3 separate regions of the Homo sapiens genome follow, and regions 2 and 3 are each linked to region 1. Evidence: promoter capture Hi-C in human tissues and cell types (Jung and others, 2019). All regions are on one chromosome and are shown on one strand. Each heading gives the region's core, a stretch centred on a gene start or on the middle of the fragment in contact. The rest is flanking DNA. Distances are from core to core; before and after follow the strand shown.

Region 1 (4,052 bases), core at 390-2,889:
GATTCAGTGAATAATGCACACAAACTGGTTTGCATGGAGTCTGGCATAAAACAGGTGTTCAATAAATATATTATTATTATTATTACAGCAGATGACAGTCTTTAATTCTGCATCCTCTTCCTGTTTTGTCACAAGATTCCAAATATTATTCAGCAGTATAACTCCGTCTCCAGTTTTCAGGGCAGCTGAGAACAGGGAAGGGTTAAGGTGGAGGTGAAGGGTGGCAGCAGGGCGGGGCACTGAGGTGCCATGTCTTGCTCCATTCCCAACACCCTCTGTGACCTTGGGCTGGTCTCTCTCTCTCTGCCTCTCTCTCTGTCTGTCCTCAGGCCCTTTGTTCTTGATGCATCCAAATGACAGTGCTGGCTGCTCAAGGCTGCAGTGAGCCCACCCCAGGAGGCCAGGAGTGTCCGAAAACCACATGTGCTTCTGGAAGATGTGGAAACTCTCCCAGAAGCCCTGGGAGGCAGGCTGGCAGGAAACCTCCTGGGGATCAGAGAGCCCAGGGCTGCCGGATATGATATTGTGAACTCGGTGGCCTCTGCCCGGGGCTGCTGCTACCGGAGCCCTCCCACACCTGCCTCCCATGCTTGCAGGGGAGGGAGACAGAGAACCCCTCAGCCAGGCCCCTCCTGCCCCACTACTCTGCACTCCCTGCAGAGCTGGCTTGGCTTCGTCAAAAGCAGGGCCCATCAGGGTGGAGGCGGCGATGTGTCAGCTGGTATTCAGGCTCTGGTTGTGCGCTCAGATCGCTCCCCCTCCCCATCTCCCCAAATCCACCCACCCACCCCGGTACCCACTGCTTGGGGCCTTCTGGGTGGCAGCACTTCACAGAGAGAGACCGAGGAGCAGCCCTGAGCCCTTGGCTGTGGGGGGTGGGGGAACTGACTCACTTGGCCCCCCTCCCTCGTGCCGATGGGGCAGCCCCCACACCCATGGGCGCTGGCACCCCGGCAGGCCCCCGGGTTTTGGAAGAGGAAGCTGCAGCCCGGCTGCGCCTGACCGGAGCCGGCTGAGGATGCGCTCTGGGCGCAGGGACCCGCTGGCCCCCGGGCCGGGAGGCGATGTTTAGGCAGCGACCCCCCAGAGGCTGCCGGGGCCACCCTGGCCACGGGCCCGCCGGGACGCCCCTGCTCGCCGCGCCCCTCCCCGGGCCGTGGCGCGTCCCCCGAGCCGCGCAATATTTCCTTCCTGCACCTTTAAGAAGACCGTTGCTCCGTGGTGGGATGGTGTGTTAAAGCCACACAGAGGAAGTTACGCAGCCCGGATCAGACCGAGAGATAAAAGCCCCGATGGTGATCGTGAGTGATGGCAAGAGGATTTAGCCTCGGCATTAACTTGGAGCGGAGTGCAGGGGGGCAGTGAAGCGCCCGCCATCTGGCCCGCGCCGCGCCGGGGGGATGCCCCGGCTCCCCGACGAGACGCCGCGAAGCCCACCCGGGCCGGGGGCTGCCCGGCGCCCGAGCGCGGGTCCTCCCCGGGCCGCCCAGGGGGGCCAAAAAGTTTGCACTTGTTAGCGGCGACCTCCCGCTCAGCCCGGGCGGGCGATGCGGGCGGCGCGGGCGGCCCCCTCCCCCGGCCCGCGTCTCCGGGACGGCTGCGGGCGGCCCCCCCGGCGGCCGGAGGGCTCCCTGGCCCCGATCTGACGGCGGCGGCGGCGGCGGCCACAGCGGCGGGAGCGGCGCGGGGAAGGAGCAGCGGCTCGCAGCCCTCGGCCCGCGCCCCCACCCAGCGCCAGCCCGAGGGGGGAGGCGCAGCGCCGGAGGGTGGCGGTCCTCGGCCCTCCCAGGTCTCCGCGCCGGGAAGCCGCTCCGAGCCGGGGTAAGGCGGGCGGGGAGAGCCCGGGAGGCGGGCGGGGGGAGAGGCTGCAGCTTGGCCAGGCCGGTTTCATTTTTAAAGGGCTTCGGTGACCATGCAGGCTTGCCCGGGCCCGGGAGCCACTTACAGCGGCCCGGCAAAGGCTCGGATGCAAAAGTTGTTTGGTGGCGGCTGCTACGAGCTGAGAACTGGAGTCGCCCCAGAGGGGTGTGTGAGGGTGCGTTCTTAGCAGCATCTTAAAGGGGTAGCTTGTCTTTCTGGCCAGCTTCCCCCGGGTCCTTTCCGTCGTGTGTGTGAGAGTGTGTGTGTGTGTGTGTGTGAGAGAGAGACAGAGTGTGTGTGTGTGTGTGTGTGTGTGTGTGTGTGTGTGTGTGTGTGTGTCGGGGAGGGATGTTGCAAGGATGCTCGGATGTGTCTCGGAAAAGGAAACTAACCCTGCTCCCGCGCCTCTCCCCCACCCCAATTCCACCGCCACCGCTTAGAGCCACCCCCATCCCGTGCCCTCCCATCTCTCTGCAAACTGGGAGCCTGTGAGTTGCACAGAGAAACTCCCGGCCAGTCCGGCTGGAAACTTCTCCCGGCGCCGGGAGGGGGTCGGGAGGTGAGGGGGCGCAGGCACTGGTTTGGGGCCGGCGTGGAGTCGAACCTGGAACTGAGCGGCGCGCAGGTGGGGGGAGCAGAGGCGGCGGGAAGGCGGGAAGAGAGGACCGCGGGCTCGCGGGGTCCGCCCGCTCCGGAGTAAGTTGGCCGTCTGGGCTGGGGGCGGCGGCGGCCGGGTCGCCACAGGCGGCAGCGCCGGGGCAAAGGATACAGCCAGTTCCTGGGCGCCCTGCTCTGTGTCTTTTAATTAAGAGAGGCAGTGCCGAAAAAGGGGGCGCCTCAGTCCCGGCCGGGCCTTTATTACGGGCTTAATTATTAATTGCTGCCGTGGCTTGCACGCAACTTTGGGAAGACGAAAAGCAGCTGCGGGGCTGCCGGGTCGTCGGTGTCCTAGGCACAGGGCTCGCAGCCGGCCCGAAGCACTGACTCGACCCTGGCCCCGGCCTCGACCCCGCCCGCGGCCCGCCGGGACCCACCCGGGAGCTGCTGCTCGCGCCCCGCCTCCCGCGCCCAACTTTCCAGGGCTCCCGCGGGCGGGGACCCAGGGGCCGGATAAAGGGCCCGCTCCGGAGCGGGGGGACACCCGGGCCGCCGGAATTAAGAGGCCCGCCGAGGCTACAGTGAGCGCGGGGCGCCCGCTGGACCCCGCCCGGGGCAGAGGACGGGAAGGTGACCCCGCCGGCCAAGCTCCCTTTCCCTCCCGGCAACCGCCACTCTCCCCTGAAAGCAGATTTCACCCCCCTCTGCCGCCCCTGCCGAGGAGGGAGAGGGAACCCCGGGGTGGGCTGAGTATCCCCCCTAGCCCCGGGAGCCCCCAGCGCCCTCCCTCCCGTGCCCCCAGGGGCCCCGCGCCCGCCGCGGCAAGTTTCCCACACGGCGAGGGCGCAGCAGGCAACTCCAAGAGGAACCTGCTGGCGAGCCCAGCCAGCTCGGGAGGCGCTAATTCAATAAGACAGAGAAATCTGAGTTCAGAAATCCTGATAAAATCTAATTTTCGAGTTTTAATACCCTGGCTATCAGCCCCCCTTGGTTCCTGAGGACTCTTAAAAGAAAATAAAGCACATTGATTCTATTTGTTTCTGGGAGCTGCAGTTTCTTAATAATATCAGGTGAAGATAAATTTTCCACGGAGAAAACGATCCTCCGGGATGCAGCTTCTTACTCTGAAAATTTCCCTGCCGACTCCTCACTCTCTGCGCTCCTCCTCGTTATCCGGGGACTCCTGCCTCTCTTCCCCCTTCTCTTTTTTCTTTTTGGCAGAACCCGCCTGCAATATTCGTGTGCTGAGCTCGTAATTCCCCCTGCGATGCCAGCAACGCCCAATTGATTGACTAGTTGTAAACACATTTTTCCCCTGGCAGATTTTGTTGTTGTTAGGGTTTTTTAAATTTATTTATTTTCCAGGGAATGCGTGGCATTTAAACCAACAGGACTGCAATTAATAGATTTGCGAGTTGCGCCGCGCGCGCCGCTCGCCCCAGCCTCCCGGCCTCCGGGCCTCGCTGCCTCCCCGCGCCCGGCGGCGTCCAGCGCCCTGCAAGCCCCGAGCAGCCGCGGGTCCTGCAGCTGAAGGAAGGTTGCAGCTGCGCCCTCCTTGCAAGCCGCAGCCCGGCGTCCTGGTTGTCCCAGCAGCC
Region 2 (4,052 bases), core at 405-2,904, 220 kb before region 1:
TTGCTTGAGCCCAGGCGGCTGAGGCTGCAATGAGCTGTGATCACGCCACTGCACTCCAGCCTGGGTGACAAAGTGAGACCCTGTCTCAAAAAAAAAAAAAAAAAAGAAAGAAAGAAAGAAAGAAAGAAAAAATCACCAGCCTAGTGCCTGGTAGTCCAAATCTTACTTGCCACCAGCATGACCTGTCCTCAGAGACAAGAGGAGGACAGCATCCTGGAGGCTTGGGGAGATAGGGATAGGTGTCCCCGCAGCCACGGGAAACAACTGCCTCCATTTCCTACTTGTCAGATGAGCACAGTTGGTGCTACCCACCTCGAGGGCCACAGTGAGGACCAGATGAGATAAGTGCTGTGTAAGCCACAAGACTCTGTCCACACAGACGTTCACTGTGCCATACAGACGGCTGGTTCCTCTAGGGAATTACTTCCCCTCCACTCCTTGCAGTTCTGTGGGGCTGCCAAGGCCTGACTCCCCCATCCTCTGGGCTCAGGGCAAGGAGCAACTGCAGGCTAGGCCAGCAGGAGTGTTCTTCCCAGGTTGTATGCACAGGGATGGAAGGCGGTTAATACGGAATCATTTGGGCCATGGGGCCCCCTAAAAAACGTTGTCCTGATCTTGTTCCTGACATGCCTGGAGCTACTCTGGTTTTTGTCCTGCCGGGCAGGTCAGATTAATCACTGAGTCTGATGCACCTGGCACCATCAAACAGCAAAACCAAAACCAACTCTTTCCTTATGTAAGTCAATCAGAGTTTCTGTTGACTGCATTCAAGGAAGCCCAGCCAATTCAGGAGGAAATGCCGTTTTATTTCAAAAGCACAGGCACAGTTCGTACATTTGCCGAGGGAGGTAAAGGAAGGTGTCAGCTGAGACTGCTCAAGTGCACCCTGCTTCAACGGCCTCTTAACTGGTCTTTCCCCATCAGTCTCGCTTGCCCCCAAAGCCTTCAGGAATACACTGCATTCCAGAATAAATCAATTTATTCCAGATTCATCTCCAGAAAACACTTTTTGGGGAACAGGTGACTAGCAGTAGGTAGTGGGGGAGGTGGCATCTGTTGGTCCTGCTCCCCCTCCAGGTAGGAATTCCCATCACCCACCTCACGATGGATGTGGTAGCAGTGAATAGCCTAGAGATTTGCCATCTCATAAAATTCCAACTTTTAATAGTAAATGCCAAATGCAGGCATTATGTTAAAAGTATGATTAACCCCATGGCCCATGGCAATCTGATTCTGAATCAAATCACCTACCACTGGCCCTGTAAGTAAGCACCAGCTTCTGTGAGTTCCTGTGTCGCTGAAGAAAGGTAACAAGTAGGCACCTAGATCCACGTGTCTGAATTAGCGGGGGTGGATGGGTGTTAGTGGTAGTAAATAAACAGGGCATATGAAATGTGATTCTTGCCTTGAATTGAGCCCCTAAACTCTCTCATCAGTCTATTAGGACAGAAGCTCCATGGGAAAGCAGGCGAGGTCGACCATCACTGTGAAATACATGCCTGCCTTCTCAGGTGGAAGGAACTCATCTGTGTGGCCTGTTTGCCTGGAATCCTGTTCCCTCTGCTCATTCCCTTCAATGCCAAATCCCACCCTCATTATGAAATGGGAGCTCAATGACCCAGAAATAATTTGAACAAACCTATTTCACTGAGGATGCATTCATTTTTATCTTCATTAACTCTCTGGGGCCCTGTCAGGTATGCTGAGAGCAGGGTTTATGTTTCAACTGCTAGGTCTGGGGTATCTTAAAATCTGGGCAATTTGTACATTTAACTGAGGCAGACTTTTTTTTTTTTTTGAGACAGAGTCTCGCTCTTTTGCCCAGGCTGGAGTGCAATGGCGCGATCTCAGCTCACTGCAACCTCTGGAGGCAGACGATATTTTGTGTTCTGTAGACAGATGTATTTTATATGAAGAAAACTGTTTCCCTTTTCTATGAAAAAAACATCGCATTATCTCCTTTTCTTTATGTTTTAACTGAAAGAAATTTTTTAAATATTATGTTATCCAGGTGAATGTCACTAATTTGTTTCCCCCACAAACGAAGTAACAAACATTTAACAAGCCCAGATCTTTTCCTGTCTTAAGACCAAAACACGCACGCACACACAATGCTCCCCGAAGATGAACGGCTGGAGTAAACAGTAACTCATCCTGGGTGACTGGCTATTTATAAGATTTCACACAAGTAAAATGCTAAAATATGGGGAGTTCACACTAGGCTCCAAAGCAGCAACAGCAGAATAGATGGAAAAAATACCCAGTCCTGAACCTTACCTCCCTGACGCCCATCGAAACCATCATTCTTATTCAATAAACTCTGCTTTTTATAAAATGTGGTGGTTCCTCAAAAATCTGTGTTCAGGGAAGTATTCTTCAAGCACATACAAGTATTATTACACAGACCACTAGAAAAGCTTCTCATCATTGAGGTCTCTATGCCTTCCTAATTAATAACATAATTTAGCATTTCTATCCCACTGTATTTCCAAAACACACCTGTCTTCGGTGAATTCATGCAAATACAAACATCTTCTAGGAGATTATGAGGCGATGTGTTCAGAGCAAACCATAATCAGAAACAGCAAAACCAGAAGTCATCAGTCTCAGAACACTTTCTTCAAATACATAATATTCTGGTTTTATATTAAGAGAGTGTTTTCTTTTTTTTTCTTTTTTTTTTTGAGAAGGAGTCTTGCTCTGTCACCCAGGCTGGAGAGTGCAGTGGAGTGATCTCGGCTCACTGCAAGCTCCGCCTCCCAGGTTCATGCCATTCTCCTGCCTCAGCCTCCCCAGCAGCTGGGACTACAGGCACCCACCACCACACCCGGCTAATATTTTGTATTTTTAGTAGAGATGGGGTTTCACTGTGTTAGCCAGGATGGTCTCGATCTCCTGACCTCGTGATCCGCCCGCCTCAGCCTCCCAAAGTGCTGGGATTACAGGCGTGAGTCACCGCGCCTGGCGAGAGTGTTTTCTTTAGCAGGATCCAACAGTTGAGCATCACTATTGTCTACTATACTCCTTTGGGGAAAATAGAAAACAGATTCGCCAAAACATTGGGAGGTTGCATTAAGTGACTTAAGGTGAAATGGTCTTACAGTGTCTTTCCTCTCTGGTTAAGTCTTACATGGGGTCTGAAATTTTGTTCAAAAGCAAGGTTTCAATGTGCAGAATTCTTAACCTACAGAATGCCAGTAAAGAAACTATGTTATTCACTATCAAATTGGAATTTAATCCCCATTCTCTAGATCCTACAACACAGGACCAGAGAGTTAATTGTGAAGTCCATTTTTTCCCCCAACATCCCTACAAATCAGTCAAGCTGATCTTACCAGAAGCATTGCTGATGTTCCATTGGGTCTGGATAAGTGGATGGACATTTCAGGAAACATCCTGTCAATGCGGCTGATCACATCATCAACATATCTACATGGGAAAAAAATAAACATGTGTGAACTACAACTCCAGTTAAGAGCTACAGATTAATAGTATTCAAAAGACATTGCTTTTAAATATAATTTTAAATCAATATAACACATTTTTAAGAAGGCAAATAGAATTAGAAACCTTTTAGTCTTTACCTCTGTATGTCCAGATAATGTGTTTTTAATGCTAGTTCTTGATTTTTCATTTTAAGGCATGACTATTAATCTTCTTCTATAGGAGGTCAGAATTTAGCTGTGTCACCTGCTGGGCCACTGGACTCCAACAACATGGCCCCCTCCCTTTGTCCTTCCAGTCCAGGATGGCAGCAGTGTCCTGCTGTTGCGCACCTCCGGGCTGTCTCACTGTCTAATCTGGCTTCTCCTTTGAATCACTGGAATAACCAATTCCCAGGATTAAATTCCTTCCTTTTTTTTTTTTTTTTTTTTCTTTGAGACAGAGTCTTGCTGTGTCACCTAGGCTGGAGTGCAGTGGCGTGATCTCGGCTCACTGCAACCTCTGCCTCCCGGGTTCAAGCGATTCTCCTGCTTCAGCCTCCCGAGTAGCTGGGACTACAGGCGATCCCCACCACACCTGGCTACTTTTTATATTTTTAGTAGAGATGG
Region 3 (4,052 bases), core at 993-3,492, 210 kb before region 1:
TAAAACCAACCCTGCTAGAGTAAGAAACATGGTAAATTGAAGAATATTTAAACCAACTGAAGGTAACAGTGATATAAGTATTCTAGATTAGTAATGAAACAAAATTTACATGCGCTCTGCTTAACTGAACAACATTCATTTAATAATTTTCCCCTGGAGTATTTTAACTGTGGATGCGGCTAGTTTAGAAATTCAAGACATCCAAACAGGATAATGGAAGGATCTGCCTCCCTGAGAAACAGGTACCCCAGTCTGGTTTTCTGCTGCCTCTCTTATTTCCCCTTCCTTCCTAAAGTGCCCTGGCACCTCCAAACTGTAGCCACAAAGTAGTCCTTCTCAGGCCACTGCAAAGTTTGCTTTTTCCTTTAAGTTTACTGTCAAGTTCATATTTGCAGGTGTGAATTTGCACAGACTAACAGTTTCCAAAATGTCATACACATAAAAGTGGTTTTAGGTGATATATGGATGAACATTTTTCATTTCAATATCTGTAGGTATAGAACAATATACAACTAGTAAATAAAACCTGTGATTTCATAGATAGCATTGCTCAGTCATGGTACCACAGAGGCTAGGCTTTAAAAAATTATACAAATATTATACAAATTATAATTAAAATTACATTATTTAAGAATATTAAAAATACTATACAAATAATAGAACAGCTGGCCAAAGGTTATGGCAAAAATTCTACAGTTGGTTTGCAAATGACTGAGTTTAGAAACACTATCTTACAGTAAGGCAGGTAATTAAACAGCTTCGTTCCAAAAGGGTTTTGCCTTGTTCGTAAATTGTGGGGTTTTTTTTCCCCCACTCTAAATAAATCTTCACTTTTATATCTTTTTTTTTTTTTTTTGAGATGGAGTCTCTGTCTGTCACCCAGGCTGGAGTGCCAGTGGCATGATCTTGGCTCACTGCAACCTCTGCCTCCCGGGTTCAAGTGATTCTTGTGCCTCAGCCTCCTGGGTAGTTAGGATTACAGGCCCCTACCACCACACCCGGTTAATTTTTGACAGGGTTTCGCCATGTTGGCCAGGCTGGTCTCAAACTCCTGACCTCAGATGATCCGCCCGCCTCAGTCTCCCAAAGTGCTGGGTTTACAGGCATGAGCCACCATGCCCAGCCTTTTTATCTTTTTAAAAAAGTTTTCATGCATATATTTGCATATATTGAAGAAGGAGAAATGGACAAGCACCCTAGGAGTGGCCAGGGTGTTTAGGTAAGCAGCACCACTAAGCAAGGGCTGCCAGTGATCAATCAGCTGGGAGCTGACCACACTGGGATGCATGTCTGGGAATGTGTGATGTGAGCACAGGAGGAGGGCCTCCTTGATAGAAAATGTCTTTCCCACAGCCAGCAGCATGCACGCTCAGTGGCTCCAAAATCCCTTTTGCCCTTTTCAAAGGAGTTAAAAACCACACCAGAACATACTTCTCTCAGTGGAGCCAAATCTAGGAGTCTACCTGAGACAGGTGGATTGATGCTTGCAATGCCCTGAACAAACTTTTAGAGGGTGCCCTCTACAGGTTTAAGGTGGCCTCAACAAACCATTAACTAGCCTCAGCTGTGATCTCCTGAAGCTGAGAAGTCTTGTGGCAGTCTTTCAAGTTCTGGCAGAAACTCTTTTATATTGTATATCAGAGGAGAAAGAAAGTGAATCAATTTGACCCCTCTGCTCATCAATGCTACCACTGACCCTCTGAGCCCTACTACCTATTTCTCTCCCATAGCATGCCACCCCAAAGAAACTCCTCTGCCCAGAGAAAGGGGACAACTTCAGGGGTGAACGAAACCCATTATTTATAAGCAAGGAAGGTCATAAGAATTATTATTATTTTTTTAAAAGCTTAGAAGGATGAGCTCATCCAGAAGACATAACAATCCTAAATGTGTATGCTCCTAAAAAATAGTCAATACCACGCCTCTCTCAGTAATTGACAGAACAAGTAGACAGAAAGTCAGTAAGAATACAGAAGACTTGAACAGGGTTAACCCAATGACATATATATTCTATATCCCAAAACAGTAGAAGGTACATCCTTTCCAAGTGCACCTGGAACACTCACCAAGACAGACCATAAGCCGGGTCTCGAAACATGCAGAATATGTTCTCTGACCACAACTGAAGTGAAAAATAAATAACAAAAATATAACATAAAGAGCCCCCATATATTCAGAAATTAAACACACTTTTAAACAACTCACGGGTCAAAGAAGAAATCACAAGAGAAATTAGAAAATACCTTGGGCTGAATGATAAAAATATATTAAAACGTGTGGGATGCAGCTAAAACCATGCTCAGAGGGAAATTTATAGTTTTTAAAAGCCTATATAAGAAAAGAAAAAAGACTTGAAGATCAAATATCTAAGCTTCCATTAAAAAAAGAAAAAGAAGAGAAAATTAAATCCAAGGTAAGTACAAGGAGGCAATAATGTGTGTAAATCAATGAAATAGAAGACAGATACAGAAAAATCACCAAAACCAAGAGCAGGTTATGGAAATAAAAATCAACAAAACTGAGAAGTCGCTAGTTAGACTGATCAAGAGCAAAAAGAGGGAAGATAATTTATCAATATCAGGAATGAATGATGAGACATCGCTCAGATTCTAGAGGCATTAGAAGAGAATACTATGAACCAATCTCTTCGACAGCTAGACGAAGTGGATGTCTTTGAAAGATGTAAGTTATATAACTGACATGAGAAGAAATAAACATCTAAAAAGCTTTACATCTATTTTGCTAAAAGTGAATTTGTTATTAAAAATCTTCCCATGAAGAAAACTCCAGACCCACACAGATCCCTCAGTTAAATCTATCAACTATCTAGGGAAGAAATAGTATCAATCATATGGAAATTCAGAAAACAGAGAAAAAATATTTCTCAACTCATTTAATGGATCAAGCATTATCCTGATACTGAAACTAGAGAAAGACACTACAAAAGAAAAAGAAAGTTATAGACAATACTCTTCCATGAACAAAGATACAAAATTCCTTAATAAAATATTAGCAAATAGAATCCAGCAATATATAAAAAAGATAATATATCATGATCAAGTGTATTCCAGAAATGCAAAATTGGACTAACATTCAAAAATCAACCCATGCTGTGTTCTAGCCATACCATGAAATATTACTCTGACACCTGCTAAAGGTATGAACCTTGGGGAAATTACGCTAAGTCAGAAAAAAATAAATACTGTCTGATTCCACTTTTAGGATATACTTACAGAGGTCAAATCCATAGAGACAGAAAGTAGAATGGTGGCTGCCAGGAGATGGTGGAGTGGGAATTGGAAGTTACAGTTAGTGGGCACAGTTTTAGTTTTGCAAGATGAAGAGTTCTGAAGATGAATGGCGGTGATGGCTGCACAAAAATGTAAATGCACTTCGGGAGGCCGAGGCGGGCAGATCACCTGAGGTCAGGAGTCTGAGACCAGCCTGGCCAACATGGCGAAACCCCATCTCTACTAAAAATACAAATATTAGCCAAGCATGATGGCAGGCGCCTGTAATTCCAGCTACTCAGGAGGCTGAGGCACAAGAATTGCTTGAACCCAGAAGGCAGCAGTTGCAGTGAGCCGAGATCACGCCACTGCACTCCAGCTGGGTGACAGAGTGAGACTCCGCCTCAAAAAAAAAAAAAAAAAGTGAATGTACTTAATGCCACTGAATTGTAACATTTAAAAGTGGTTAAATTATCTGTTATGTGTACTTAATAAGAATTTTTTAAAAATCAATCCATGCCATGTAACTTACCATATTAAAATAAAGGAAAATCATTTGATCACCTCAATAAATGCAGAAAAAACGTTTGACAAAATTCAACACCCAATTGATGATTAAAAAAAAAAAAACACATACACACTTTCAGCAGAGTAGGACTAGAAGAGGGCAAAAGATCTGAACAGATACTTACTTTGTAACAAGGACATGCCAATCTTCAGGCCAGTAAGCACCTAAAAGGAGGCTCAACATCAATAATCAAAGGAAAATGCAAAATGTACTTGGCCTGCACTAGAATGGCTAAAATAACAAGAACTGGCAAT

Evidence for each region. The method cuts DNA at HindIII sites, captures the fragments that hold promoters and counts their contacts. A contact is called where the count stands out against the background at its distance.
Region 2: a fragment that was not itself captured here is called in contact with the fragment with the promoter of NTNG2 in region 1 in 2 of the 25 tissues and cell types used here (IMR-90 fibroblasts and hippocampus).
Region 3: a contact is called between a fragment that was not itself captured here and the fragment with the promoter of NTNG2 in region 1, in 2 of the 25 tissues and cell types used here (dorsolateral prefrontal cortex and lymphoblastoid cells).

The regions. Positions count from the first base shown.
Region 1 is chr9:132,160,419-132,164,470 of GRCh38, forward strand. NTNG2 (netrin G2) reads left to right here and starts at 1,640. Exons shown (of 8, transcript NM_032536.4): 1 at 1,640-1,821. It overlaps LOC124902291 (a long non-coding RNA gene), which reads right to left and starts at 1,282. Exons shown (of 2, transcript XR_007061826.1): 1 at 1,198-1,282; 2 at 40-185. The HindIII fragment of the contact is 9,283 bases long and covers 1-4,052 here.
Region 2 is chr9:131,936,046-131,940,097 of GRCh38, forward strand. It overlaps MED27 (mediator complex subunit 27), which reads right to left. Exons shown (of 8, transcript NM_004269.4): 4 at 3,336-3,429. Among named protein-coding and RNA genes, the nearest start is that of MED27, 140 kb to the right of the region's middle. The HindIII fragment of the contact is 5,314 bases long and covers 1-4,052 here.
Region 3 is chr9:131,952,979-131,957,030 of GRCh38, forward strand. All of the region lies in intron 3 of MED27 (mediator complex subunit 27), which reads right to left. Among named protein-coding and RNA genes, the nearest start is that of MED27, 120 kb to the right of the region's middle. The HindIII fragment of the contact is 4,027 bases long and covers 230-4,052 here.